7 separate regions of the Homo sapiens genome follow, and all the other regions are linked to region 2. Evidence: promoter capture Hi-C in 16 types of primary human blood cells and fetal thymus (Javierre and others, 2016). All regions are on one chromosome and are shown on one strand. The core of a region is centred on a gene start or on the middle of the fragment in contact, and the rest is flanking DNA. Distances in the headings are between cores, read along the strand shown.

What was found. The method cuts DNA at HindIII sites, captures the fragments that hold promoters and counts their contacts. A CHiCAGO score of 5 or more calls a contact.
Region 1: a contact is called between a fragment that was not itself captured here and the fragment with the promoter of KRTAP1-4 in region 2, in 1 of 17 cell types (total B cells). The highest score is 6.1, in total B cells.
Region 3: a contact is called between a fragment that was not itself captured here and the fragment with the promoter of KRTAP1-4 in region 2, in 1 of 17 cell types (total CD8 T cells). The highest score is 5.3, in total CD8 T cells.
Region 4: a fragment that was not itself captured here is called in contact with the fragment with the promoter of KRTAP1-4 in region 2 in 1 of 17 cell types (non-activated CD4 T cells); the score reaches 6.2 in non-activated CD4 T cells.
Region 5: a contact is called between the fragment with the promoter of KRT15 here and the fragment with the promoter of KRTAP1-4 in region 2, in 3 of 17 cell types (non-activated CD4 T cells, naive CD8 T cells and total CD8 T cells). The highest score is 5.6, in non-activated CD4 T cells.
Region 6: a contact is called between a fragment that was not itself captured here and the fragment with the promoter of KRTAP1-4 in region 2, in 1 of 17 cell types (total B cells). The highest score is 5.6, in total B cells.
Region 7: a fragment that was not itself captured here is called in contact with the fragment with the promoter of KRTAP1-4 in region 2 in 1 of 17 cell types (naive CD4 T cells); the score reaches 5.8 in naive CD4 T cells.

Annotation. Positions count from the first base shown.
Region 1 is chr17:41,372,457-41,376,501 of GRCh38, forward strand. No RefSeq gene overlaps it. Among named protein-coding and RNA genes, the nearest start is that of KRT33B, 4.7 kb to the left of the region's middle. The HindIII fragment of the contact is 4,497 bases long and covers 1-4,045 here.
Region 2 is chr17:41,028,586-41,032,447 of GRCh38, forward strand. It overlaps KRTAP1-4 (keratin associated protein 1-4), which reads right to left and starts at 1,610. Exons shown (of 1, transcript NM_001257305.2): 1 at 766-1,610. The coding sequence starts at 1,493. The coding sequence ends at 1,128. RefSeq lists an enhancer at 700-1,249. The HindIII fragment of the contact is 2,506 bases long and covers 261-2,766 here.
Region 3 is chr17:41,453,821-41,457,521 of GRCh38, forward strand. No RefSeq gene overlaps it. Among named protein-coding and RNA genes, the nearest start is that of KRT32, 12 kb to the right of the region's middle. The HindIII fragment of the contact is 2,084 bases long and covers 1,076-3,159 here.
Region 4 is chr17:41,428,009-41,432,108 of GRCh38, forward strand. No RefSeq gene overlaps it. Among named protein-coding and RNA genes, the nearest start is that of KRT37, 5.5 kb to the left of the region's middle. The HindIII fragment of the contact is 2,088 bases long and covers 1,068-3,155 here.
Region 5 is chr17:41,517,072-41,520,776 of GRCh38, forward strand. KRT15 (keratin 15) reads right to left here and starts at 1,819. Exons shown (of 8, transcript NM_002275.4): 1 at 1,259-1,819; 2 at 12-94. The coding sequence starts at 1,756. MIR6510 (microRNA 6510) reads right to left here and starts at 146; the gene lies at 93-146. RefSeq lists enhancers at 1-454, 2,159-3,158. The HindIII fragment of the contact is 23,808 bases long and covers 1-3,705 here.
Region 6 is chr17:41,404,672-41,408,536 of GRCh38, forward strand. It overlaps LOC100505782 (a long non-coding RNA gene), which reads left to right. Exons shown (of 3, transcript NR_040111.1): 2 at 3,750-3,865. It also overlaps the pseudogene KRT41P. Among named protein-coding and RNA genes, the nearest start is that of KRT31, 9.0 kb to the left of the region's middle. RefSeq lists an enhancer at 1-218. The HindIII fragment of the contact is 3,030 bases long and covers 831-3,860 here.
Region 7 is chr17:41,470,115-41,473,850 of GRCh38, forward strand. No RefSeq gene overlaps it. Among named protein-coding and RNA genes, the nearest start is that of KRT32, 4.6 kb to the left of the region's middle. The HindIII fragment of the contact is 4,488 bases long and covers 1-3,736 here.

The DNA of each region.
Region 1 (4,045 bases), core at 683-3,182, 340 kb after region 2:
CAAAGTCTGGAAGGCAATTGCTTTTTACTTACTCCACTTGCTGTGTACTGTGAATTCTTATCTTTACATGGGTGATGCTATTGTCTCTGTTCAATGGCCCTTCATTAAACATGACAAGTAAGTCAAATCCTAACAAACCGAAAGGTTTTATACATGCCCATGTAATAGCGGCAGATGCTATGGTTGAGGCTTCTGGTCTTAAGATGTGAGCAAATTGCAGTTGAGGTTTAAGGATGCTATTTATTATGGAAGCCCGGGCTATTTCCATAGAAGAGATCACATGCCAACCCACCAGCGATGCTTAACCACGGAGTGGACATAGGATGGGGCTTCTGCTGAGGCCACCTTCCTCATTGTGGGACTTCAAAGGCATTAGGAGGCCTCCCTCCTTCTTCCCAAAGCCATCTTCTCCAATGTCCAGGCTCTGGTGCTTGAAATTGTCACCGTGAGAAATGTAAAATTTATTCTTTTAGAAATACGAAGTTACATTGGGCTACTTGAAAATTAATTATATTTTAATATGTACAAATGAGAAGGAGAGGCCAGGAGCAGTATCACTACATGCACACAGAGCAAGAAGATGGACTTTTTGCCAAAGAGGGATCCCAGAGGGGAATTAGAAAAGCAGAAAGACTGTCCAATAACAACCCCAGCCCATGGTTTTGGGCCAGCCTGTTAGAGCTTCCTAGAAGAGCAGAAGATAGGGCTTCCACAAACTGTTCCATAAAGGCAACTGTTGTCAATTTATCAATCCTCCAGCCTCAGGACATTGAGAGGAGAAATTGAAGGGGTAATTCAGGAAATAAGCCAACAAGTTTGGCCCTGTTCAATGGGGCTTCTGATAAGGGACAAGCAGGAGAGGGGCTGAAGAATGAGCCAGGTCAGCAGTAAGCTACGCTGAGCAAAAACAGATACAAACACCTCAAAATGGAACTCAGGAGGTAGTTCTACAAATCCTCTCCAGAGCCACCATGTTTCTCTTACACTCAGTCTTGGACTCCCAATGGGAATGGAGTCTTGGAGTCTTCAGGGACCAAGCCAAGTCAGAAAAATACAAAGTTCATCTATGCTATGTGTTTTTTTTTAACTTTTATTTTAAGTTGAGGGATACAAGTGCAGGTTTGTTACATAGATAAACTTGTGTCATGGGAGTTTGTTTTACAGATTATTTCATCACCCAGGTATTAAGCCTAGTACCCATTAGTTATTTTTCCTGATCCTCTCCCTCCTCCCACCCTCTACCCTCCAGAAGGCTCCAGTGTGTGTTGTTCCCCTCTATATGTCCACGTGTTCTCATCATTCAGCTCCCACGAGATCTATGCTATGTTTTTGACTACTCTAGACTATCAACTCAGTCTAGAATAGACAAGAGCATGACACAATCCAGGACGATGTAATTTAATGGTGCTAGTCTTCCTGAAAAAGCTGGATCCAGGGCCCACTCAGAGATGGAATGAAAACCTATATATGTGTCCTGCTCTGCAGATCAAGGGAGAGGGCAGATGCTAAAACCTTTTGACAGTACACAGAAGATAAAGCAAAGTCAGCTGAGTACAAATGTGTTGTGTTGAACTTTTGCATTACACTCACTATCACGTTGGTGATTTGAGACAGACATGAAAAAAACATGGAAATACAGCTTCTTCCCTCAGCCTCCCACAGACTCTGTTCTCTTTATAATCACCAGGAGTCTCCCCATTGCTTTAACCAGTAGATTTGTCTGATTCTCACCATCCTTGCCCTGGATGCTGTTGACAACTCTTTCATTAGAGCTCCAACTTCTTTTGACTTCTGTGTCCTTTAAGGTGCTTCTCCACTTCCCTCTCAAACTGCTTGCAACCAGATGTCATCTCTGTCCTCAAGATCTGGCAAAACCAAGGCTGAACCTCACATCAGGGACTTTGGAGAGCCCCAGCTGAAGTCTGTGGTTTCTATCAGTGGTCCTCAAGGTTCTTCTATTCCCTGCTAGCCTCCATTGGACAGTCTTAACAATTCCTATAGCTCTAATTATCATCTTTATTTACCCAGCTCTCCGACATCTCCCTCAAATCTAGTTATTCTTCTCCAGGTCTCTCCAATGGAAACTCATTGTTGTTTCATTTTCTCAGGCTGAAAATCTTCAGACCCATAGTAGGTGTTTGTGATGGTTAATTTAATGTATCAACTTGACTGGGCCAAGGGATGCCCAGATAGCTGGTAAAACATTATTTCTGGGTATGTGTGTAAAGGTGTTTCTAAAAGAGATCAGCATTTGAATCAGGAGAGTGAGTAAAGATCACCCTCACCAATGTGGGCAGGTGTCCTCCAATGTGGGTAGTCAAATAGAACCAAAAAGTAGAAGAAAGGCAAATTATTTCTCTCATTGACCGGTAAGGGAGAAGCAGGAGAGGGTCTGGAGAATAGGCCAGGTCAGTAGTAAGCTATGCTGAGCAAAGACAGACACGGACACCTCAAAACGGAACTCGGGATCTAGTTCCACAAACCCTCTCCAGAGCCATCACTGTTTCTCTTACACTCAGTCCTGCACTCCCAATGGGAATAGAGTTGAGCTGGGACATCCATCTTCTCCTGCCCTCTAACATCAATGCTCCCAGTTCTTGAGCCTTCAGTCTCAAACCAGGACTTACACCACCAGCCTTCCTGATTCTCAGTCCTTTGGGTTTGGATTGGAATTATACCACTGGCTTTCCTGGGCCTCCACCTTGAAGACAGCAGATTATGAAACTTCTCAGCCTCCATAATCATATAAGCTAATTCCTTATAATAAATCTCTTTCTATGTATCTATACATAGCCTACTGTTTCTGTTTCTCTGGATAACCCTAATACAGTGTGTGATCAGTACTAGTTTCCTTCCTTTTCTTTCCATTGTTCCTCTATCTCTACTCAGCTTCCATATTTAAGCCATGCCTCTAAAACCTACCCCTCTTTGGCCTCACTCTCCTCCACTTATCTCAGTCCTTATTGTCTCTCACCTCTTAATTGATCTTCCTTCTATTTCATCCAGCTTCTAGGACTCCTCACAACCCAACCTGTACACAGCTGCCAGATATATCATATGGCAAACTCCCTTACAAGAAAATCTCATGTATAATCATTCGGAGCACTTCCAAATATGGCCGTACCTAACTACCTTGCAGTTTCATCTCCTATAACCACACTTACCCTCTGTTCTAGGCTAGGGATTGGGTTGTCAATTTCTAAACACACCTCATAACTCCTCCAGGCAAAGTTCATGCTCAGGAAAACTTTCCCTCTTCTTTTTTTTTTTTGAGACAGAGTCTCACTCTATCATCCAGGCTGGAGTGCAGTGGCACGATCTTGGCTCACTGCAACCTCCGCCTCCTGGGTTCAAGCTATTCCCCTGCCTCAGCCTCCTGAGTAGCTGGGACTACAGGTGTGTGCCACCATGCCTGGCTAATTTTTTTTTTTTTTTTTTTTTGTATTTTCAATACAGATGGGGTTTCACCGTGTTAGCCAGGATGGTCTCAATCTCCTGACCTCGTGATCCACCTGCCTCAGCCTCCCAAAGTGCTGGGATTACAGGCGTGAGCCACTGCACCTGGCCAAAACTTTCCCTCTTCTATGGCCTAAACACACTCACCTGACCAGACATTTCCCAGCAAACTTTATTTCAGAATTATGCTAATATCATACAGTAATCATTGATTGAAGTTGAAACTATGGGAAGTATATAAAGTTTTAATAACCTTCTCATGAATTTTCATTAGTGTTACTCTTCCTTATTTATTCCACTTACAGTATTCCATGGTTTACATCGTCTTTAATTAGGTGATGATATTGCCTCTGCTGAAGGGCCTGCAGTCAACAAGACAGGCAGACAAAATTTATATCAACAGAACATTTGGGTTTTCAAGGCTTTGATTGAGTGCTCCCTCCTTCTTGGAGCCTCTTCTTTTCATTCTCTCACACATCTGAAATTCGTAATTCTTTATCTGCACCTTTCTTGAGCCACACTGATATTTGTCTATGATGACTGTAGCTTTGTCTCATCCACTCTAAACTGTAAAACATGCTGTGGGCCG
Region 2 (3,862 bases), core at 360-2,859:
CTCAGCCTCCCAAAGTGCTGGGATTACAGGCGTAAGCCACCGTGTCCAGCGTGTTAACTTCTTAAGAGAATATCTTTTAAGTTGGGTTGCAAAGTGCAAAATATAATCGAGCTGTTTCAGATTTCTAACACTTCTGTCTGACAAATGGCAATGGTAGAACTCAGCGGGTGCTCTCTATAGCTGTTTCTTCTACTATCATTTAGACCAAAGATACACCTTATGCATACGTACATCAAATGAAGGTGAATAGTGGGAGTTGAAGCTTAGAGAGCAATTCAAGGATCAGTGGGAAGAATGTGAAAGGCTAAGGTGTAGAAATTAAACCTAAATTCTCTTGGAAAATAGGTAGTATCTAGTAGCTATTTTTAAATCTATTTAGAAGGTAATGCAATTTCTTTAGATTTTGGGGCATAAATGAAGGAGAACATTTAGTATATTAAATGGAAGGAGACAAAAGATGGTAGAATTACATTTAGATAGAAATCAATAGCTTTGATCAACCTTAACATTTTAGCTAAAGGTCAACCTTTATTGGTCTAGACCTAATCATAATAGATTAGAGCATGTAAATATTTGAACTATAAAAATTCTTTAATTCATGGAGCATTTTTAAGCTGATGGATTCAAGCATAATTTACTTTGTATTTAATCTTTCTGGTTTAGACTTTATGGTTATGCCTTGGTATTATTATCAAATTGCAAATCCACTCTTGAATACCAGCTACAAGAAGACATGTTTAAAGGTAGAAGGAGGACATAACTCAGTTTGCTTTGCACATTAAAACATTTTATTTGGATTAATCAGAGATATTCAAGGAAAAACCAGGTCTGAAGATGCATGAGCATCAAGAGAGAGTTGGGGGAGCAGAGATGTCACTGAAATGATGAACTATTCCATCCTGGTCCTCTGCTCAAGCAACGCAAGCTATCCAGAACACTGATTGATACATCTTTCAGTAAGTGAATTCGGCACATCCACAGTGTCCTAACTAGGAGTTTCATTATCTCTGAGCAGCTTAACAACATCATGGTACTTAGCATCCAAGTAAAATCGAACAGTTCTTCAGAAATCAGCACAATTTTGCTGTGCTTCCCCTTTCATTCTTAAGCGATCAGCAACCTGGCTTTTAGCAGGTGGGCTCACAGCAGTGGCAGCAGCAGGCTGGGCGGCAGCAGGACTGTCCACAGTAGGACGGGCGGCAGCAGGAGGCCTCGGCGTGGTGCAGCTGGCAGCAGGATGGGGGTGTGCAGCTTACCAGGTAGCAGGGGGGCAGGCAGGTGCCCTCCACGTGGCAATCTGGGTGGCACCACCTGATACGGGTGCTCACAGATCCACCGCTGCCCTCCTGGCCATAGCCAATGCCACCACCAATGCCACAGCCGGTTCCGCAGGAGCTGGTCTGGCAGCAGCTTGGCTGGCAGCAGCTAGTTTCACAGCAGCTTGGCTGGCAGCAGCTGGAGCCACAGGTCCCACTGGTGGAACAGCTGGCCATGGTGTCAGGAGTTGGGTTGAGAGCTGTGTTAAGAGAGGTTTCTGAGTTTGGGCTGTACCTTCTATATCTGTCCTTTGATATGTTCCCTAGAGCTGCATATTTACCCAACACCTTTTCTTGATGTCAATTTCAGTGTGAGTCTCTGGCTAATACCTGAGGTGTTTATAAAGTTATAAATAGCATTTCAATAGCCTTTTTCCATTGTACAATTAAGTCTCATTATGTTTCTTCTTTGCCCTCTGGGCGAAGTGAAGGCTCATCATGGAAGCCAAGCACCGAAGTGCCTCTTTATGCAAGTCACATGACAGACTAGCCTTGAGCCAAGTGTCGCCCTGGCACGTTTTGTCATAGTTGTCCTTTGATAACCTTTAGGCAGAATTTATCTTAACTGATCATTTTTCCTTAAATGGTCACTTAACTATGATCATGATTTTATAAACAATTTGTCCAGACTTGGAAAGACTAACATTAGTGTCATCAAAACATGAACTACAACCTGATGTATCAACTTTCAAACCAAGTATGCCTTTCTATGATCAATTTGTGCAAGTTATAGGATCCTCAGAGCTCTATCTAATATTCTTGCCTTCAGTAATAGTGAATGTACAAATTGCTAACTAAAATCTTTAATGACTTTTGCTTGTAGATTGTTTTCTGACTCTATTAAATTAAACATATGTGCTAGTAATGAGTACACATTGTAACAAGTCAAAGAGTACAGAGGTATATAAAGAAAAATTAGTGTCTTTTCCCTTCCTGGAAGATGCACACATCTCTTCCAAAACTAATGCTCTAGAGGTAATCAATATTAAGAATTTGGTGCACATTCTTTGACACCTTTATCCTTGCTTCTGCAAATATAAACCAGCATATATACATATATATCTTCTATTTCAGAAAAGTTTGGGTCTCCTACACATGTTTATAGTTACAAATTTTTAATTGTGGTAAAATATACATACCATAAAATTTATGAACCATTTACATTAACCATCTTAACCATTTGTAAATAGTCTTGTCACCCTTGTTGAAAATCATTTGACCACATTCACATTCAGAAGAAATGAAATTAGACCATTGTCTCACATTATATACAAAAACCAACTTAGAATGGATTAAAAGACTGAAATGTAAGAAAGACTCAAAATGATAAAACTATAAGAAGAAAACAGAGGAAACTCCATGACTTTTGCCTGGCCAATATTGTGATATTGTGAACATGAATCCAAAAGCATCAGCAAAAATAGACAAGTGGGATTACATCAAACTAAAAAGCTTCTGCACAGCCAATAAAACACTAAACTGAGTGAAGACGCAAACCGCTGAATGGGAGAAAATATTTATAAACCACATATCTGATAAAGGGTTAATATCCAAAGTATAGAGGAAACTCAAACAACTCAATACCTGTAGTAAGAAAACAAATAACGTAATTGAAAAATGGGCAAAAAATCTAAATAGACATTTCTCAAAAAAAATCTACAAATTGCCAACAGGTATATGAAAAATTTTCAAAATCACCAATCATCGGATAATGCAAATTGAAACCACAATGAGATATCGTCTCACACATATTAGATAGTTATTATCAAAAAGACAAAAGATAGCAAGTGTTGGAGAGGAAGTGGAGAAAAGAGAACTCTGGCACACTGTTGGTGGAAATGTAAATTAGTACAGCCATTATGGAAAACAATATGAAGGTTCATCAGAAAATTAAAAATAGAACTGTCATATAATCAAGCAATCCCACTTCTGTGTATATACCCGAAGGAAAGTAAATCAGTATTTTGAAGAGACATCTGCATTCCCATGTTCATTGCAGCATTACTCACAATAGCCAAGATATGGAAGCAACCTAAGTGTCCATGTCCATCATTAAATGAGTGGATAAAGAAAATGTGATACACACACACATACACACACACACACTCACACACTGGAATATTATTGGTCATAAAAGAAGGAAATCCTGCTATTTGGGGCAACAGATTAAACTTGAGAACATTATACTAAGTGAAATAAGTCAGACAAAGAAAAAGACTAATATTGCACTTTCTCACTTACAAGTGGAACTTAATGTAAATGACAAGTTATTGGGTGCAGCACACCAACATGGCACATGTATACATATGCAACAAACCTGCAAGTTGTGCACATGTACCCTAGAACTTAAAGTATAATAAAAACAAAAAAACCTCAAAAAAAAGAAAAAGTTGAATTCATGGAAGTAGAAAGTAGAATGGTGGTTACCGGGGGTAGGGTGGTGGTGGAGTGTGTTGGGAAGATGTTGGTCAAAGGATTACAAAATTTCAGTTAGATAAGAGGAATAAATTCAAGAGATCTATTGTACAACATAGAGACTATAGTTC
Region 3 (3,701 bases), core at 868-3,367, 430 kb after region 2:
GTCAGGGCACTGCCGTTTGCTCCACTGCTGGCTCTCAGCACCACCCCTGCTTCTCATTCTCCTGCTCCAACTGCTGCAACTTCTGCAAGCAGTTGGCCAGGCACTCACTTAAGAACTGCATGATCCCTTTCCCACTGCTGCTGAGGATGTCTTCACTGAACCAGCCACAGGTGCCCATACTGGCAGGGATGTTCCTGGTCCCTGGCAGAGGACAGGCAGAGTGACTGCTGGCAGGGCCAGGCTGGACTGACTGTGAGCCACAGGTTCTAAGGAGATGGCTACTAGGTTGGTGACTCTCTTACAGGTGGGCCCCAGTCTTAATACTGGGATCTACAGACATTGGGTACAGAGTTTCTAGAGTGGTTTCTGGCCACAGCCTGTCTGGAGCAAGGAGGCTTCAAATGGCTCTTGCCAAAGCTTGAGGAGCAGGGATTTCTGCTTTAACTAGAAGCCATGGTCCTAGACAGTTGAGTTGCAGATTGGTGACAAGGGCCAGGTGCTCAGGTGTGAGTGTTTCCTCACCCAGAGCTTTTATTCACCTGCCATAGGAGCAGATGTGATACACAAGCTTTCCCCCAATGAATCCTCATTTGTTCTGCCATCAGAACAACCCATCAGCAGTTATTCAGTCCTCAGAAGTAGCTCCCCACTTTATGAAAGAAAGGGCTGACTTTGGACTTCTTGTTACTGCCTTCTGTTGTGAAAAGAAATGTTAAATGTTTTCTCTTTAGAGATGCCCCATTGAAAAGTTAGACTTTGTTCCTTGAGTGACTATCTGGCCTCTCTCTAGGAATGGCATTGGCTCTAAGATGAATCGTCCTCTCCACTGACCTTCAATACCCAAAAAAGTAAAATTCTCTGATAAGAGCCTCAGGAATCCCTAAAGAGCAATAGAGCAAAGACTGCTAAGTTATTAGAACTAAAGAAAACTTCCAAGTACTAATTCAACCTTTCGTGCTTCAGAGACCAGAGAAGGACAGTGAGCTCCCCAGGGATGCCAAGCAAGTCAGATACAGAGCCAGGACTGGTCCCAGGGCCCCTAGCACATTCTGTTTCCTCTGCACCAAGATGGACAAGCTTTTTCTGTTAAAAAGACAGATGCTAAATATTTTAGGCTTTGCAAGTCGTATACTCTCTTTGTACTGCAACTACTTAGCTCTGCCATTGTAGCACAAAGCAGACATAGACAACAGGGAAATGAATGGGTGTGGCTATGCTCCAATAAAACTTGATTTACCAAAACAAGTAGCAGTGGGGTTTGACCTGTGAGCTGTAGTTGCCATCCCTGCTTCACACAGCACAGTGAATGAGGCTTAAAAATTGGACCCCTTAAGCATGTGGGAGACCTTCAGTCCGCTCTGGAGCCAGAGGGCTGGGCAGAGGGAGGGCACCTGGGAATGGATGGTGAACTCCAGGACTGGACGCTGAGCCTCAGACACCAGGGCCTTCACTCTACCAGGGCATTTACACCAAGACTGGAAGTTCATCCAATGCTCTTAGAGCAAAGCAAAGCTACCCATATGTTGTTGTTGCTGCTGCTGCTGCTGCTGTTGTTGTTTCTGAAACTTGGGCTTCAGAATGGCTCCAAAATATGACTCAGCTGCCATTGTAATTGGGGAAAGTCAGAAGAGAAGAGAAATTTGTTGCCAAAGCATGTTTTCTTTACTCAACATTCATCAGGCACCTACAATATGCCAGGCATCATGACAGGCATTTTTATATGTACTATATCCCAACAACTCTGTGAAAAAGGTAGAATTACTCCCATTTCTAAAGGGGAGAAGACTGAGATGCATAGAGATTAAGAGTTCTGCCAAAATCACACAGCACATTAGCAGCAGAACTGGGGGTCTAGCCCAGTTTTTCTGAAGCCAAAGGCACTGATCTTCTCCATTAATCCTAGATGCTCATTGGTGACTTTGTTTACATATTATGATTAAGGGACACTGCTATTTAAATACAAATTTGTCTTGATCAGTTGGGCAAAAAGATAGACATCAAATGATCTTAGGAACTTTCTGTTTAGCCGAATTGATATCATTGCATTCAAGTGTTACATTTTATGAAATACAGGCCGGGTGCAGTGGCTCACGCCTGTAATCCCAGCAGTTTGGAAGGCCAAGGTGGGTGAATCACCTGAGGTCAAGAGTTCGAGACCAGCCTGGCCAACATGGTGAAACCCCATTTCTACTAAAAATACAAAAATTAGCCAGGCATGGTGGCATGTGCCTGTGGTCCTAGCTACTCAGGAGGCTGAGGCACAAGAATCACTTGAACCCAGGAGGCAGAGGTTGCAGTGAGCCAAGATCATGCCACTGCACTCCAGCCTGGGCTACGGGGCGAGACTCTCTCTCCAAAAGAAAAAAAAATTATGAAATACAAAAAGAATATTGTTTTATTATTAATGATTTTCCTGGTTATACCCTGGAAGAGGCATATTCTTTTTTTGATCACTCTCTAAAAGGTTTCCTAATATAGTGGTGAAGAAAGATTCAGTCAGTGCAATTCAGAGTCCACACACAGCCCCAACTCCCAGATGCCAAACCCAACTCCTGGATCTTTCGGGAAGCTGTCGCCCTCTGGCCAGTCTTCCTTGAATGGCAGTTCTGCCCATGGGCCCTCACTCTCACCCCCAGAAGAGGGTGCTTTGCACTAGGGCAGTGAGCAGCAGGGGTGAGGCCCAAACTCTTGAATAGCCTTGGGGAAAGTGGTGTCTTTAAAAAGCACACCCTTTTCTTTTCCAATCCCGCTCAGAGAGGATCCCTGATACCTGTGAGGGTTTCTCCAAAACATCAAATATGACAGAGGTTTTATGACTTGACCAGGGTCCTGCCTACATTTCCCTATAAACTCTTCCCCTATAAAGAGTTAATTAGATGCAAATGCTTTGATATGAGGAGAGAGTTCCTCTGAGAATCTCCATGAGTGGTACACTGAGTCCAGTTCCCAGGAGATTCCGGTGCTGGTGGGGGATAAATATCTCCCAAAGTCTATGCCCACGGCTTCTTCATCCATCAAATAAGAGACAGGCTAGGCAGGAGGGTAGCTCGTGACACCTCTGGCTTGAAGTACCATCCAGACACAGAAGATGATGGGCCTCACTTCTAGCAGAGGAGGGTACTCCTGGCCCTGGGCTGTGGGGCTTGGTTTCATATAAAAAGCTTTAACAGTCATCTTGGGAGTCAGACAGGTCTTGGCAAGTGGGAGAGACACACAGGTGTGGGAATGGGGACCGAGTTGGACTGAAACAATATGCACTGGGGAAACGGAGACTCTGGAAGTCCCCAGGGGGTCCAGGGTCCAGGACTTCTGGCCCACAACTCCTGTGCAATCATTCCTGCTGAGGCTCTGGGCTGCAGCTCAAGGTCTTTGCTCTTACTGAGCCCAGTGCTCAAAGAAAGAGGAGATGCTGAGTCTGGTAGTTGCTAGCGATGCTTTTTAAGAGAACTATATTCCCAGGAAGAAGTTTCAGCTTCTCAGAGAAAATGTCTCCCTTCTTTGGGAAATGAAAGAAAAGGAGAGGGGAAATATGTATTAGCCTGAAATAATAATAAACCTAGGGTGCTTGGAGAAAGCATAAAGTGCTTGGAGAGACCTAAGAGGCTTGGCGTCAAAACCCTTGGCTTCAATTTCCACCTGTTGGTTGTGTCTGTGAGCACATCTGTCCACCTCCCTGGGTCTGAGATGACTCTTCTGTAAAA
Region 4 (4,100 bases), core at 862-3,361, 400 kb after region 2:
ATAATGACTTCTTTTCCTCTGAGTAGATACCCAGTAGTGGGATTGTTGGATCAAATGATAGTTCTACTTTTAGTTCTTTAAGGAATCTCCACACTGTTTTCCATAGTGGCTGTACTAGTTTACGTTCCCACCAGCCATGTAGAAGTGTCCCCTGATCACCACATCCACTCCAACATCTATTGTTTTTTTATTTTTTTGATTATGGCCATTCTTGCAGGAGCAAGGTCGTATCGCATTGTGATTTCGATTTGCATTTCCCTGATCATTAGTGATGTTGAGCATTTTTTTAAAGTTTATATATGTATCTTTTGAAGTATTGAAAGGAAACTAGTACTTTATATTCTTTATCATATCATGTTTTATAATTGTTGAATATGTTCCTGTTTATTTTTCTCTGTCCTGTTGTGTAGCCTTAAGAAGTGTTTCAAAAAAAAAACCAAACATATCTGAATGTATAAAATAAGAGTAAATGCCCTACAAGTTATGATGCCACATTATACATAAAACTGTGTGCATATATTTTTAAACAGCATAAATACATCTTTGCTCTGAGAAAAAGTTGAACATGCATCCCCGTGAAAACCACAAGGGAGTCAGGGGATGATGGTGTTGATGAAACCTGGGCTCTTGGAATTCTCTCAAGGAGAAATAAGGGGTCTGGAATTCTTCCCAAGAGGAAAACCCACTGTGGGTCAGCTGTGGCTCCAGCGGCCCTGAGGTCAGCTATGACTCATTCTTTACTGGGGCAATCCTTAGAGGGCCTCTCCCTGCCAGGCCATCCCTCAGAGGCCTCTGGGTGCAATCTGCATTTTCCATCTTCAAAGACCCCTTTGTTCCTATCTTCCGCCTCAACACATAGCATCACTATAATCCAGAGAATTGAAGCATTAAAATTCTTCCCTTTGATTTGCTAAATAGGAACCCTCTCTTGACCCTATCCTCTGGCAGGATTTTATCCCATTGGCTAAAATCATGGTTCCTTCTGTCTCAGAACATATGACACTTGTTAATTCTTAAGCATCACAGCTGAAGCTTTGCATCCTTTGCGTCCTGACACACCTCTCCAAAGCTTGATATGTGTCTCTGGCTTGGGCTCTGCATGGTCCATTTTGCATAATGACATAGACACTGCCTAGTCCTTCGTACAGCAGAGGGCTCTTCTGATTTTCTTTGGTCTCAAAGGAACAGGCAGTAGGTGGAAGGCATGAGGCAGGTGTCTGGGATGTACTCAGCTGTGTAGGTGGGAAGGAGCCCATCCTTGACATTGCAGATGATCAGATGAGCCTCCTCTTCCTCCCTTTTTTTTTTTTTTTTGAGACAGAGTCTCGCCCTATTACCCAGGCTGCAGTGCAATGCAATGCAATGGCATGATCTCGGCTCACTACGACCTCCACCTCCCGGGTTCAAACGATTCTCCTGCCTCAGCCTCCTTAGTAGCTGGGATTACAGGCACCCGCCACCACACCCAGCTAATTTTTGTATTTTTAGTAGAGATGGGGTTTCACCATGTTGGCCAGACTGGTCTTGAACTCCTGACCTCGTGATCCACCCACCTCAGCCTCCCAAAGTGCTGGGATTACAGGCATGAGCCACCGTGCCCGGCCCTCTTGCTCCTCTTTAAAAAGAGTTTCTGGCCCCTGAAAATAAACATATATTCCAAGTTGCATGAAGGGAGGTATCAGAGATGAAGAGAGAAGACAGAGGTAGTCCTGCAGCCCTCCTTCCTTCACAGGGGCCACCTCTTCTCTCTTGAGGATTAAAAGATTTTGAGCTGTAATCTCTCTTCAGGCAGAGGGGAAACACTGGGTTCAGAACAGCATCACTTGGTGCCACGGTGCAGACGCATCTCTGAGTCTGACCGTTCTGACGCATCTCTGAGTGAGACAGAAGCAGAGGCACTGGGCGGTCCACAGGGTGTGAGTCTAATCTGCAACCACCTGCTCCAGCTGCAGAGGAAAAATTCTGAAGACACCTAAGGAAACAGGAGCTGCCCACACACTGCATCCTGATGTGAATTACGCCAGGAAAACATCTGCAAACCACGACCAGCAGTGTGTCCTGATACCACTGTGCCTGCAAGGCTCTCAGACATGCTGGGTGAAAACAGAGTCTGAGGAAGGATAACCCAAAACACCTTTATCATTTCAAAAGTCCACCTCAGAAGGCTTTGAAAAAAAAAAAAAAGTCACCGTTTTCTTTTCTATTAAATAGGATTTTAAAATCTAGTTACTTGGGAAACTTTGGTTTGATTTTAAGTATTTTTAAATTATTATTCTGCTTTATTCTTTTTTTGTTTTTCTTTTCTTTTTAGATGGAGTTTTGCTCTTGTTGCCCAAGCTGGAGAGCAGTGGTCTGATCTTGGCTCACTGCAACCTCCGTCTCCTGGATTCAAGAGATTCTCCTGCCTCCGCCTCCTGAATAGCTGGGATTACAGGCGTACGCCACCACGTCCGGCTAATTTTTTGTATTTTTAGCAGAGATGGAGTTTCACCATGTTAGCCAGGCTGGTCTCCGACTCCTGACCTCAGGTGATCCACCCACCTCGGCCTCCCAAAGTGCTGGGATTACAGGAGTGAGCCACAGCGCCCTGCCTAGTTTGCTTTATTCTTATCCCAGGTCTTAAGGTCATCAGAGACTAAATACTGAAAAAGTTATCTTCATTTCCCCTCCCCTTTGTTCCCTGATCCTAGAGTTTCTTTATCTACATGCTAAGGCAGGAAATTTCCCCTTATTTACCTCATACCAAGACCTATTACAAAATCCTTTAATGCAGCATAGTAGAGGTTTAAGACAATGAATTTTGGATCCAGCCTGCCTGGGTTCAGATTCTGGTTCTATCATTTATTAGCTGTGTGAACTTGGGCTGGTGACTTGACCTCTCTGTGCCTCAAATTCTGCTTATGCACAATGGAGTGACAATAGCACCTAGCTAATGGATTTAAGTTTTAAAAAAATCCATACCTGTAAATCACGTAAAATAGTGTCTAGCACAGAGTACATGGTAAGCACTAAATAAGTGTTGTGTTTTTTAATGGATTTTACTGTTACTGGTGTGTTTACATGCTTACACCATTCATAATTCAAAAATGCTTATTAAATTACTTATTTTTTACTTATTTAAGTTAGCAAAGATCAGAAGTTTAGTCTTACTAAAAAGCTTTTGCACAGCAAAAGAAACAACAGAGTGAAAATACAACCTACTGAATGGGAGAAAGAATTGTAAATCATATATCTGATAAAGGGTTAGCCTCCAAAATATATAAGGAAGTCCTACAACTCAACTGTAAAAAATAATTTTTTTTAATTTAAAAATGGGCTAAGGATTTCTATAGACATTTCTCTAAAGTAGACGTACAAACGGCCATCAGGTATATGAAAAAATGCTCAAAGTCACTAGCCATAAGGGAAATGCAGATCAAAGCCATGAGACATCACTTCACACCACTCAGGATGGCTACTATCAAAAAAAAAAAAAGACAACTAGTATTGGTGAGGATATAGAGGAGCTGGAACCATTGCACGCTGTTGGGAAAATGCAAAATGACGCAGCCACTATGGAAAACAGTATGGAGATTCCTCAAAGAATTAAAAATAGAATTACCATATGAGCCAACAATCTCACTTCAGGGTATTTATCCAAAAGAATTGAAATTGGGATCTCAAAGAGATGTTAACACTCCTGTGGTCATTGCAGCAGGAGTCACAATAGCCAGAATGTGGAAACTACCTAAATGTCCGTTGACAGATAAATACAAAAAGAAATTGGTATGTGCAAACACTGGAATTCCATTCAGCCTTTAAAAAGGACGAAATTCTGCAATACGCAACGTGAATAAACCTCGAAGACGTTATGCTAAATAAAATAAGCCAATCACAGAAAGACAAATACTGCATGATTCTGCTTATATGAGGTATCTAAAATAGATTCAACCCTGAAGACATTATGCTAAATGAAATAAGCCGATCACAGAAAGACAAATACTGCATAATTCTGCTTATACAAGGTATTTAAAATAGGCAAATTCATAGAATCAAAGAGTGGAATGGTGGTTTCCAGAGGCTGTGGGAAAAGGGGAAATGGAAAGTTACTGTTCAATGAA
Region 5 (3,705 bases), core at 569-3,068, 490 kb after region 2:
GGGGAGCGCACTTGAGCCTGAAGTCGTCCGCAGCCAGCCTGGCATTGTCGATCTCCAGGATGACCCGGGAGTTGTCGATGGTGGTGGCCATGATCTGCAGGAGACAGAGTCGGTGTCTAGAGGACTCCTCTCTCTCCCCTGCTGCTCTCTGCTCTGCACCCAAGGCCAGCCCCTCATTGAAAATCACCCCTCACTGACAATCACCCCTCTGACACCACCAACAAAAATCTGTACGGCTTCTGGGGTGGGCAAAGTCCAGCCTCACTTTCAGTGTCCATTTCTTGTTTTGTCCCATCCAGCCTCCTTGAGACACCTGAGGAGCTGCCTTCCTTATCTCCAGGGCACGAAAGACCAAGGAGGCAGTATTGCCTGTGGGAATTGGTTGCCCAGGAGAGTGGGGCAGTGGGGTGCAGCCAGCTCTGACAATAGCTCTCTCAGAGACACTCCACCAGCCCCACTGTGGACAACTCATGGTCACTGCCTCCTGCACACCTTGGACACAGCCATGGATCTACAGAACATTCCAGCCAGTAGCAACCTGGAGGGCAGTTAAGAAGGCATTTTACGAATGAGGAACCCAGTCTTAGGGAGTAAAATGGTGAGTGAGTGGGTGGCAGAATGTGTAATGAGTTCCCAGGTCTCCTAAGACCCAACAGTACTTTTGGCACAAAAGACCTCTTTATAGGAAAAGACAAGAGGTTCTAGCATCTGGAACTCATGAGGCCACACTCCAATCCCATTCTTGCAAAAGAGGTAAAGGAATACTTTATGCAGAAGCCTGCAGGGTGCATGAGGTAGGGAGGGCGAGTTGCTCTTTTTTTTTAATTATTTTTATTTAATTAGATACAGGTTCCACTCTGTCACCTAGGCCGGAGTGCAGTGGCACAGTCATAGCTCACTGCAGCCTCTAAATCCTGGACACGAGCAATCCTATCACCTTGGCCCCCCAAAGCACTGGGATTACAGGTGTGAGCTACTGCCTCTGGCTCTTTATAATTGCCCCCACCTGTGCCCCTGTTGGTCCTAACCAGATTCCCAAGACCCCTCTCTCCCTCCCCCAGCACCACCAAGTTGAGAAGATGTGCACTGGCCTCTGCACCTGGACAGCAGGTGCATTCCAAATTTGCTGAGATTACATACCAGACAGTCATTGCCTGGGCAGGAAAGGATTTCCTTGAGTCAGCAGTAACACTGACATTAGAGCTGTGTACAGGGTACCAGCCACCTGCTCCCCTCTCTTTGACATCCGAGGACTCACCTTGTCCCGGAGCTCTTCAATGGTCTTGAAGTATTGGCTGTAGTCGCATTCTGGGCTGGTTGGGGTCTGCTTCTGGTACCAGTCATGGATCTTCACCTCCAGGTCAGCATTGGCCTCCTCCAGGGCACGTACCTTGTCCAGGTAGGAGGCCAGGCGGTCATTGAGGTTCTGCATGGTAATTTTCTCATTGCCAGAGAGGAGACCACCATCGCCACCACCAAAGCCACCACCAAAACCCCCACCAACGCCCCCTCCAAAGCCTCCACCGAAAACACTACCAGCCCCTCCACCAAAGCCACAGACCCTCATGCCACCCCCATATCCTCCTCCTGACCCTGAAGAGACAAACCTAGCAGAAGAAGCTGAGATACTTCGGCTTCCACCTCCCCCAGAGAGACTCCCCCCACCAAAGCCACCTCCCCCAGCCAGGAGGGAACCCCCTCGGGTTGAGCCACCCCCAAAGGTGGAGGAAGAAGTTTGCAGAAATGTGGTGGTCATGGCCAGGTAGCTGGAGCCCGTGAGTTCTCAGCAAACCCAAGAGATGCTGGCAGGAGGTACCAGGCCAGGCTGCACGCTGGGGCTCCTTATATACCCTTCAGAGGGTGTTGTGGGACCTCGTCTCCTCCCCTAAAGCAAAGCCAACTCCTTCTGCCTTCCTGACAAACACAGCTGCCTGCACACCTTGAGTGGGTCATGTGAAGTTTTTCTCTTCTATTTTTTTTTAATGCAACAAAAGAGATGATTCAGAATTAATAGTGTTTTTCCCCAGGGCACGGTTTTAACACTTGGATTACAGGTTCATCTCTCCATGCCAGAAGAGAGCAGCAGGGAGCGAACTCTCATCACAGCACAGCTACCAAGGCCTCTGCCTGTACTGAGAGCAGCTCAGGCCAACTGTGCCCTCAGCTGGACTTCACTTCCCCGAGCCCTGAGCCTCTCCCCAAGAGGACAGCTCCGTGTTCTTAGTTTGGGAGTCCACTGGCCGATCATTATGCTGTGTTATCCAACTCAAAACCCTGTGAGTGAGTGAGTGAGTGAATGAGTGAGTGAGTGAGTGAGTGAGAGACTGCAGGGCTCAGGGAGAGTGGAGGCCCTGGGGATGGGAATGCAGGGCCCCTGGGGGCAGGTGGAGGACAGGAGCCAGGGACCTTGAGTAGTGTTCCAGCTGAGGTGACCAGAGGAGCCAGCATCCATCCCCTTACCTGGTGCTGCAGATGGACTCCCCTCCTCCCACCTCTACTCCCCTCCTGCCATCCTCCAGCCTGTGTTCCTGGCACCCTCACAAAAGCCCAGCAGGCTTGGGACTGACAAGGGGATGACTGATGATCCCGACACCTGCCAACTGCACGGCGCTGAACCTTTGCTCGTTTCTGGGATGTGTTGGGGCAAACCTCCGCTGATAAGGCTGGGGCAAGTTCCAGGAAGCCCCTGCCTTCTCCAGGAGAGGCATGTCGCTGCTTAGCAGGGCCAGATTAGCCCCCATCTGTCCTGTCAAGTGCTGGCTGGGGACGGGCCGCTGCAGAAGGCTCTATGTGCCTGAATGCTGTGGAAGGGAAGAGAAGGGAGACTGGCAGGCAGGCTGGAAGACACCGGAGATCTTGAAGACCAAGGCATTGCTTCACACAGACGGGGAGTTGAACACTCAGGAGAGCCCTTTTCTCTGCCACCAGCTCAGGGACACCTTTCCAGGGACACCTGATACCTGTGGGCAGTGCCACTTGGAGGTGTGGCTCAGCCCTCTGGACCTGGCCCCAGGGCTTACAGAAACTCAGGAGGAGGATTCCTAGCCCAGGTTGCAGCATGGTGAAGTGGACAGGGCTCTGGAGTCCCTCAGGCCCGGGTTTGAATCCTGGCTTTATCAATTATCATGGTAAGACTGTGAGGCCTGGGTTCAAATCCTGACCCTACCAATTACCATGGTAAGACTGTGGACATTTACCTTTTTAAGTCTCTGTTTCCCTGTGGCAAGGGGCGCTCTCAACTCTCACTTCCAGGGAAGCCCTGTGGCCCAAGAGCCCCCATCCTGCCCCCTCCTGGATCCCCACCCAGGTGCCAGACATGCAGGGGCCAGGGTGCATGACCGGCACCTGCGCCTGAGTGCCCTCACCAGGAGGGGCTTTGTCGTTGGGCATCAGAACATGCCCTGTGAGCCTGAGCATGTTCTTAGGCTCAACGGCATCGACCTTCCATAGCCAGCTCCTATGGGGCAACGCAGGTTGTTCTTAGGTTCTTATTTTGCTATAATAGCATAATCCTTTACTTCTACCCTGCACTTTGTGATTTACAAAGCACTTTTGCATCCATCACCTCCTCTCATCCTCACAACAGAGGGTGACCCCCACCCAAGATTCAGAAAGAATGAAATTGAAACTTGGAGAGGTGAAGCAACTTGTGCCAGGTGGCACCACTGGTAAGGGGCAAAGCCAGGACTCAAACAGGTCCTCACA
Region 6 (3,865 bases), core at 1,096-3,595, 380 kb after region 2:
AGCAAACTACAGTGATTCAGAGAATTCACAGAGGGAAAGGGAAGACCAAAACCAGCTCCTAAAGTAGATTTGGTGGTTCCACTTCAATGCCTGTGGTTTCACTGATCAATAAGACATAGAAAGCAGGGACGCACAGAGTTAGGGGGGCTACAGCCATCTCAACCAGCCCCATCAGTTCCCTAAGTGTTCCCCTCAACATCCCCATCAGTGATTCTGAAGCCTCTGCTTGTCTCCAAGGATAGGGAACTCACTGCTTCTCTTCTCTGGCCAGCTGTGATGCTGAATTCTGGAGATGTGCTGATTCTCAGCCACGGCTATCAAAATATGGAGCTTTTGATTCATGTTCTACCATCTGCAAATTCCAAGACAGACAGTTGCCATAAGGACTCACCAATGGGGGTTACTGGGGAGGTTGGATGGGTCAGCTTGTTTGGGCCTTTCTAGACTGATAGAAATAACTATCATGTAACATTTTCAGAGTTTTGCAATGTAAAAGAGAAAGGCTCTATCCTGATCTGATGGTATGAGGGATTCCTCACTGGAGGACATATCAGGACGGCAAGGCCAGCCCTTTCTGTAGAGGGTCTAGCTAGTCAAGGGCTCATTCCTCAAATAAACTTCCTAACCCAGTGTTTCTCAAACTTGAACCAACATCAGAATCACCTGCAAGTCATGCTAAAGCAGAATGCTGGTTCAGTAAGTCAGGGGTGGTGCTCAAGAATGTGCATGTCTAGCAAGTTCTCAGGTAATGCCAGTGCTACCTGCTGGCGGACCACGCTTTAAGAACCACTGTCCTAAACCTTCTCATGTTTAATTTGTTTCCCCCTCAAAGCTTCCAAAGAACGGGCTTTGGATCTGGTTCAAAGAGACTAGGTTTCAAGTCTTGACTCAGTAACCAACTGAGAATAATAACAGCTGCTTCTTCTTTGCAGGGCTGATGTGGTGCCCTGTGACACAATGTCGGCGAAGCCCCAGCCAGTGCCTTGTTCATAATGGGCATGTCATCCTAAAAGCTCAATTTAAGTTACCTGTTCTGGGGCTTCTGATTCATGTTCTACTGTCTACAAATTCCAAGCCAGACAGCTGCCAGGACTTACCAGTGGAGCTTACTGGGGAGCTTGGACGGGTCAGGTTGTTTGGGCCTTTCTAGACTGATGGCGATTACCATCAGTTAATATTTTCAGAGTTTTGCAACGGTCTGTGGTGCCGCAGATTTGAGCTCTTCCTTTACACAAGGACCAGGTGGCTTATCCAGATAAAAGGGAAATTTTACTTAGCGTCTATATTTTAAAAGCTCTATCTGTAAATCTGTCTCCAAATACACTTGGTGAGGTCCAAGGTTGGGTATCTCTCCTCTGTGCCACTTTGCCGCAGTCCCATTTTTAACTCTAGCCTTCACTGGCTTTGCCATCTCCCAGAACCACTCTGGCGAGCCAGCCACAACCCCCGTCTACAGAAGCATGTGGCTCAAGGAGTTCCCAGCAAGGCTCTCAGCATGGGACGGAGATGCTGAGGCTGGACTGCACTGGGCTCATTCTGCTGCAGAAGCGAAGTTTAATAGCAAAATAAAAACAAAAGTGCCTGCCCCATCTCAGAGAGATCAGGAGGCAACAGAAGAGAGAAAATGGAGCACTTGGGACACCTTGAGGGGAAGAAACAAATCCAGCCATAGGGGCTGAGCTGCTGGATTCAAACACCTATCCACAGAGTGGCACTGTCTCTCTTCAGTCTCCTGCCTGGCTGGCCAGGGAGGCAAGGCCCAGGTTAGCAGGCCTGCAGAGCAAAGCCTAACGAGCTGAAGACACCTCCCCTTTCCCAGCACCTCGGGCTGAGGAGTGTGTCAGTATCCAGTTGATGAGCAGGGCCCATGGGTGGCCCGGGAGCAGGGGGCGCAGGCTGCAGGGGCTGGACTAGGAGTGCTGAAGGCTGGGGTTGCACACGGGTTGCAGGGAAATCTGCATAGAGAAAAAAGGTGTTTGAAACATTGGCATGAGAAGTATGTGAAAGACAAAAGTATATTATAGACACTTTAGAATTAAAGTGCAAAAGAGGACCTTAGACCTTAGAGGTCCCTCTAAGCCTGAAAGGGGCAATGACGTGCCCACAGTCCACAGTGGAGCTGGGGCCAGAACTCAGTGTACCTGTGTGCCAGGCCAGGGTCACGTCCCATATGGAAGGAACACAGCAGAGAGAAAGGCAGAAAGGCCAGAGGAACAAGAATGGTCCAGATGTCAGCCACTGATTCCATTTAAACACAGCCCCTCATAGTGTTCCTTAGTGCTTAAAGGGGTATATCAGCCCTCTGATGCTTTTCACAGGGCTATTGTGGAACTAAAATGAAAGAGTCAGTGCACATGCCCTTAGCAATACTTTAAATGCTATGAGCACAAAGAATACTCGTTATTGGAATACTTCTCCTGGAGAGAATTTAGCAAAACCTGAATGTGCTGGGCATTCAGTATTTTAGCCCTCTATGGGAGTAGCCAGCAACTGGGAGCACAACGTGGTCAGCAAAACAAATGCCATGACCTGAAAACTCCTGTACACCCTCACCTACGCCTAGGCAGGCATTAGCTCACCAGGCCTAGTGGTAGCAAGTTTGTCTCCAAAGATGGGATCTGCAATGCCACCCCCACCTGGCCTCCAGAGCTCCTTTTAGGTCATTCCCAAGAGAAGTTATCTGTTTTTGCACACGGTGTTGACATAGACAACAGGGTACGTACTTGCAGTCCTCACTCTCCAGAAGGTTCCGGTATGTGGCAATCTCATTCTGCAGCCGGGCCTTCACATCCAGCAGCACCTGGTACTCCTGGTTCTGCCGCTCCAGGTCAGCCCGGATCTCAGACAGCTGTTCCTCCACATTGTTGATGAGGCTCTGCATCTGGGCCAGCTCTGTGCGGTAGCGGTCCTCGGCTTCACACAGGGAGTTCTGTAGACAGTCCTTCTATAATATCAAAGAAAGGAGGAAGCAAGTTAAAAATCATGGATCTCCAACCTCTTAAGATTGTGACACCCCAAGACATTGCCAGGTCCAGAGAGCAATCTAACTCCCTTTAGCTGTCTTCAGCCAGAATAACTAACACACTTCATGGTAGACCTTTAAGATCAGAGCCCTCTGACCTAAGTTAATGTTGATTCACTCAGCATCCACATCTACAGGGAAGTGCTTCCAAAAGAGTTGAAACCAAGGTTTAAGCTGAGTCCGTGGTTGGTATTCGAGGCCTGTACTGACCCCAGAGAGCTACTCATGGGTAGTGGGAGCCAAGCTGGGTCTCCCATGCGTGCAGAGGGACTCACCAGTGTGTGCTGAGCCTGAAGCTCCACCTCCAGGGCGTTCACCGAGCGTCTCAACTCCAGGATCTCTGACTGGCAGCACTGCAGCTCCTCAGAGCAGGACATGGCCTGCAGGCTGATGCCTTCAGACTGGAGCATAGAGAAACATGGTCACCTACCTGCCCAGATGGAGGCCAATCCCCACTGCTTAGCAGTCCCCCTCACCTGGGCTTGGAACCACTGCTCCACATCCTGGCGATTGGTCTCCACCATGGCCTCGTACTGGCCTCACGTCTCCCCCAGAACTCTACTCAGGTCAATGGTGGGCTCAATGTCCAGCTCTATCCGGAGCTTGTCTCCCAGCTGACCCCTTAGAGTGTGGGCTTCCTGTAGGCATCAGAGGAGTATGACCCGCCTGCAGGGCCCCCAACTGCCCTTCACCCAAACTCTCAACTCCCACTTTCCATCCTCCCCAGTAATTTCCCTGTGCTCCTCTGAAGATAAACCGCTGCCTGCACCAGCCTAGCAGCTTCCAGAAGCTGTGGATGAGAAGCAATCTCCCACCAAAAGCCAGAGCTCACCTGCAAAGCTT
Region 7 (3,736 bases), core at 576-3,075, 440 kb after region 2:
AGAACACATGGACACAGGGAGGGGAACATCACACACCAGGGCCTGTCGGGGGATGGGGGGCAAGGGGAGAGAGAGCATTAGAACAAATACCTAATGCATGCGGGGCTTAAAACCTAGATGATGGGTTGATAGGTGCAGCAAACCACCATGGCACATGTATACCTATGCAACAAACCTGCACATTCTGCAAATGCATCCCAGAACTTAAAGTAAAATTTTTAAAAAAAAGAGTGTGATGTTCCCCTTCCTGTGTCCATGTGTTCTCATTTGTTGTGGGGTGGGGGGACGGGGGAGAGATAGCATTGGGAGATATACCTAATGCTAGATGACGAGTTAGTGGGTGCAGCACACCAGCATGGCACATGTATACATATGTAACTAACCTGCACATTGTGCACATGTACCCTAAAACTTAAAGTATAATAACAATAAAGAAAGAAAGAAGGCATAGATGTTGCAGTTTTTAAATATTTGCTATTTAATGTTGTTTTATTTAAACAATGTAGATACACTGCTTTGATAAAAATAAAAATAAAATGTAAAAAAAAAAGAAATGCAGTTTTTCAGGCTCATCCCAGACTGGCTGAATCAGAAACTCTGAGGCTGGGGCTGGGATGCAGCAGCCTGTGTTTAGCATGTCCTTCAGGTGGTTTGGAGACCCACTGAGATAGAGGAAGATACAGGCATACCTCAGAGATAGTGCATGTTCAGTTCTAGACCACCACAATAAAGCAAATGTAACCATAAAGTGAGTCACACAAACTTTTTGGTTTTTCTGTGTATGTAAACATTATATTTACACTATACTATAGTCTATTAAGTGTACCATAGCATTATGGCCTAAAAACAATGTATATAACTTAATTTTAAAAATGCTTTATTGCTAAAAATGCTAAGGATCATCTGAGCCTTCAGCAAGTTATAATCTTTTTGCTGGTGGAAGGTCTTGCCTCAATGTTGATGGCTGAGGACTGATCAGGGTGATGATTGCTGCAAGTTAGTGTGGCTGTGGCAATTTCTGAAAATGAGACATCAGTGAAGTTTGCCGCATCAGTTGACTCTTCCTTTCATGAAAGATTTCCCTGTAGCATGTGATGCTGTTTGATAGCATTTTAACAGTAGAAATTCTTTCAAAACTAGGGTCAGTCCTCTCAAACCCTGCCACTGCCTTATTAACTAAATTGATGTAGTATTCCAAATCCTTTGTTGCCATTTCAGTGATGTTCACAGCATCTTCACCAGGAGTAGTTTCCATCTCAAGAAACCACTTTCTTTGTTCATGAATAAGAAGCAGTTCCTCATCCGTTCGTTTTGCCATAACATGGCAACAATTCAGTCACATCTTCAGGCTCCAATTCTAATTTTAATTCTCTTGCTGTTTCCAACACATCTATAGTTACTTCCTCTGCTGAAGTCTTAAGCCCCTCAACATCATACATGAGAGTTGGAATCAACTTCTTCCAAACTCCTGTTAATGTTGATATTTTGACCTCCTCTCTTGAATCACAAATATTGACATATAGAATAGTGAATCCTCTTCAGAAGGTTTTCAATTTACTTTGCCCAGATCCATCAGAGGAATCACTCTGTATGGCAGCTATAGCCTTATGAAATATATTTCTTAGGTAATAAGACTTGAAAGTCAAAATTAGTTTTTGATCCATGGGCTGTGGAATGGATGTTGTGTTGGCAAACACAAAAACATTAATCTCCTTGGACAGCTCCATCAGGGCTCTTGGGTGATCAGATGCATTGTCAATGAGCAGAAATATTTTGAAAGAAACCTTTTATTCTAAGCAGTAGGTCTCAACAGTGGGCTTAAAATATTCAGTAAACCATGTTATAAACAGATGCACTGTCGTCCAGGCTTTGTCGTTCCGTTTGTAGTGCACAGGCAGAAAAGATTTAGCATCATTCTTAAGTGCCCTAGGATATTCAGAATGGTAAATGAGCATTGACTTCCCACTTGAAGTCATCAGCTGCATTAGCTCCTAGCAAGAGAGTCAGCCCATCCTTTGAAGGTTTTGAAGGCAGACTCCTCCTGTCTAGCTATGAAAGATGCCGCCTCCCTAAACTTCATCATTTCTAGCTTTTTATTTAAAGGGAGAAACCTGCAACTTTTCCTTTCACTTGAACTCTTAGAAGCCACGGTAGGGTTATTAATTGGCCTAATTTCAATATTGCTGTGTCTCAGAAAATAGGTAGACCCAAAATAGGGAGAGAGATGGGGGAATGGCCAGTTGGTGGAGCCATCAGAACGCACGCAACGTTTATCAGTTAGGTTCCCCATCTTATCTGGGCATGGTTTGGTGCATCCCAGAACAATTACAACAGTAATATCAAAGATTACTGACCACAGATCACCATAACACATACAATAATGAAAAAGTTTGGCCAGCCGCAGTGGCTCACACCTGTAATCCCAGCACTTTGGGAGGCTGAGGTGGGCAGATCACTTGAGGTCAAGAGTTCGAGACCAGCCTGGCCAACATGACGAAACCCCATCTCTACTGAAATTACAAAAATTAGCCAGGCGTGGTGTGCCTGTAATCCCAGCTACTTGGGAGGCTGAGGCACGAGAATTGCTTGAACCCAGGAGGCAGAGGTTGCAGTGAGCCGAGATCACGCCACTGCACTCCAGCCTGGGCAGACAGCCAGATTCTGTCTCAAAAAAAAAGAAAAAGAAAAAATTTGTATTGTGAGAATTACCAAAATGTGACACAGAGACACATAAGCACATGCTGTTGGAAAAATTAGCACCAACAGACTTGCTCTAGGCAGGATTGGCACAAAACTTTAATTTGTAAAAAAAAAAAAAAAAAAAGAAAGAAAAAAGAAAAAAAAACGATATCTGGGAAGTATAATAAATTGAAACTCAATAAATCGAAGTGTGCCTGCATATATTTTAACAGCTGTCACCAGAATTCATCTTGCAGGAAAAAAAATGTCTTTACTTGGGAAACTACATTAAGAAGATCTTGGGTTAAAAGGTGGGACCCTAATGCCTTGATTTGGCTGGTAAGACATCAGAGGGTGAAAGGAGAGAAGGATTTGAAGTTCACAGGACAATCCTGGAAGGAAGGAATGAGGAGGAGAGAGACAGGAACCAGGAGCAGGGGCTCCAGGATGATGCTGAGAGGCTGTCGCTGTGAGGTGCAGTCCCAAATGCCAGCGTGAGCAGAGTTTTCCGTTGTGAAGGAAAGACCAGGTTTCATATAAAAGCAGATTGAGGCCAGGTGCAGTGGCTCACACCTATAATCCCAGCACTTTGGGATGCCCAGGCGGGCAGATCACGAGGTCAGGAGATCAAGACCATCCTGGCTAACACGGTGAAACCCCGTCTCTACTAAAAATGCAAAAAAATTAGCTGGGCTTGGTGGCGAGCACCTGTAGTCCCAGCTACTTGGGAGGCTGAGGCAGGAGAATGGCGTGAACCCGGGAGGAAGAGCTTGCAGTGAGCCGAGATTGCGCCAGTGTACTCCAGCCTGGGCCACAGAGCGAGACTCCGTCTCAAAAAAAAAAAAAGAGCGGATTGATAAAGGTAGTAGCAGCAGCATCCAAAGTCACAGAAGACCACAGTTCCAGGCAATATGCCAGATCTGGGGTATGTCGTGAAGATGGAGAAGTAGGGTCTAGGAAAGGTAGCCACAGAGAAAGTGGGGCACTGTCAGTTCTCAGGCCCAGGTCTGGCTGATCCAAAGACTTTCCACTGTACCCCAACCTCTCTGGGGCCAGA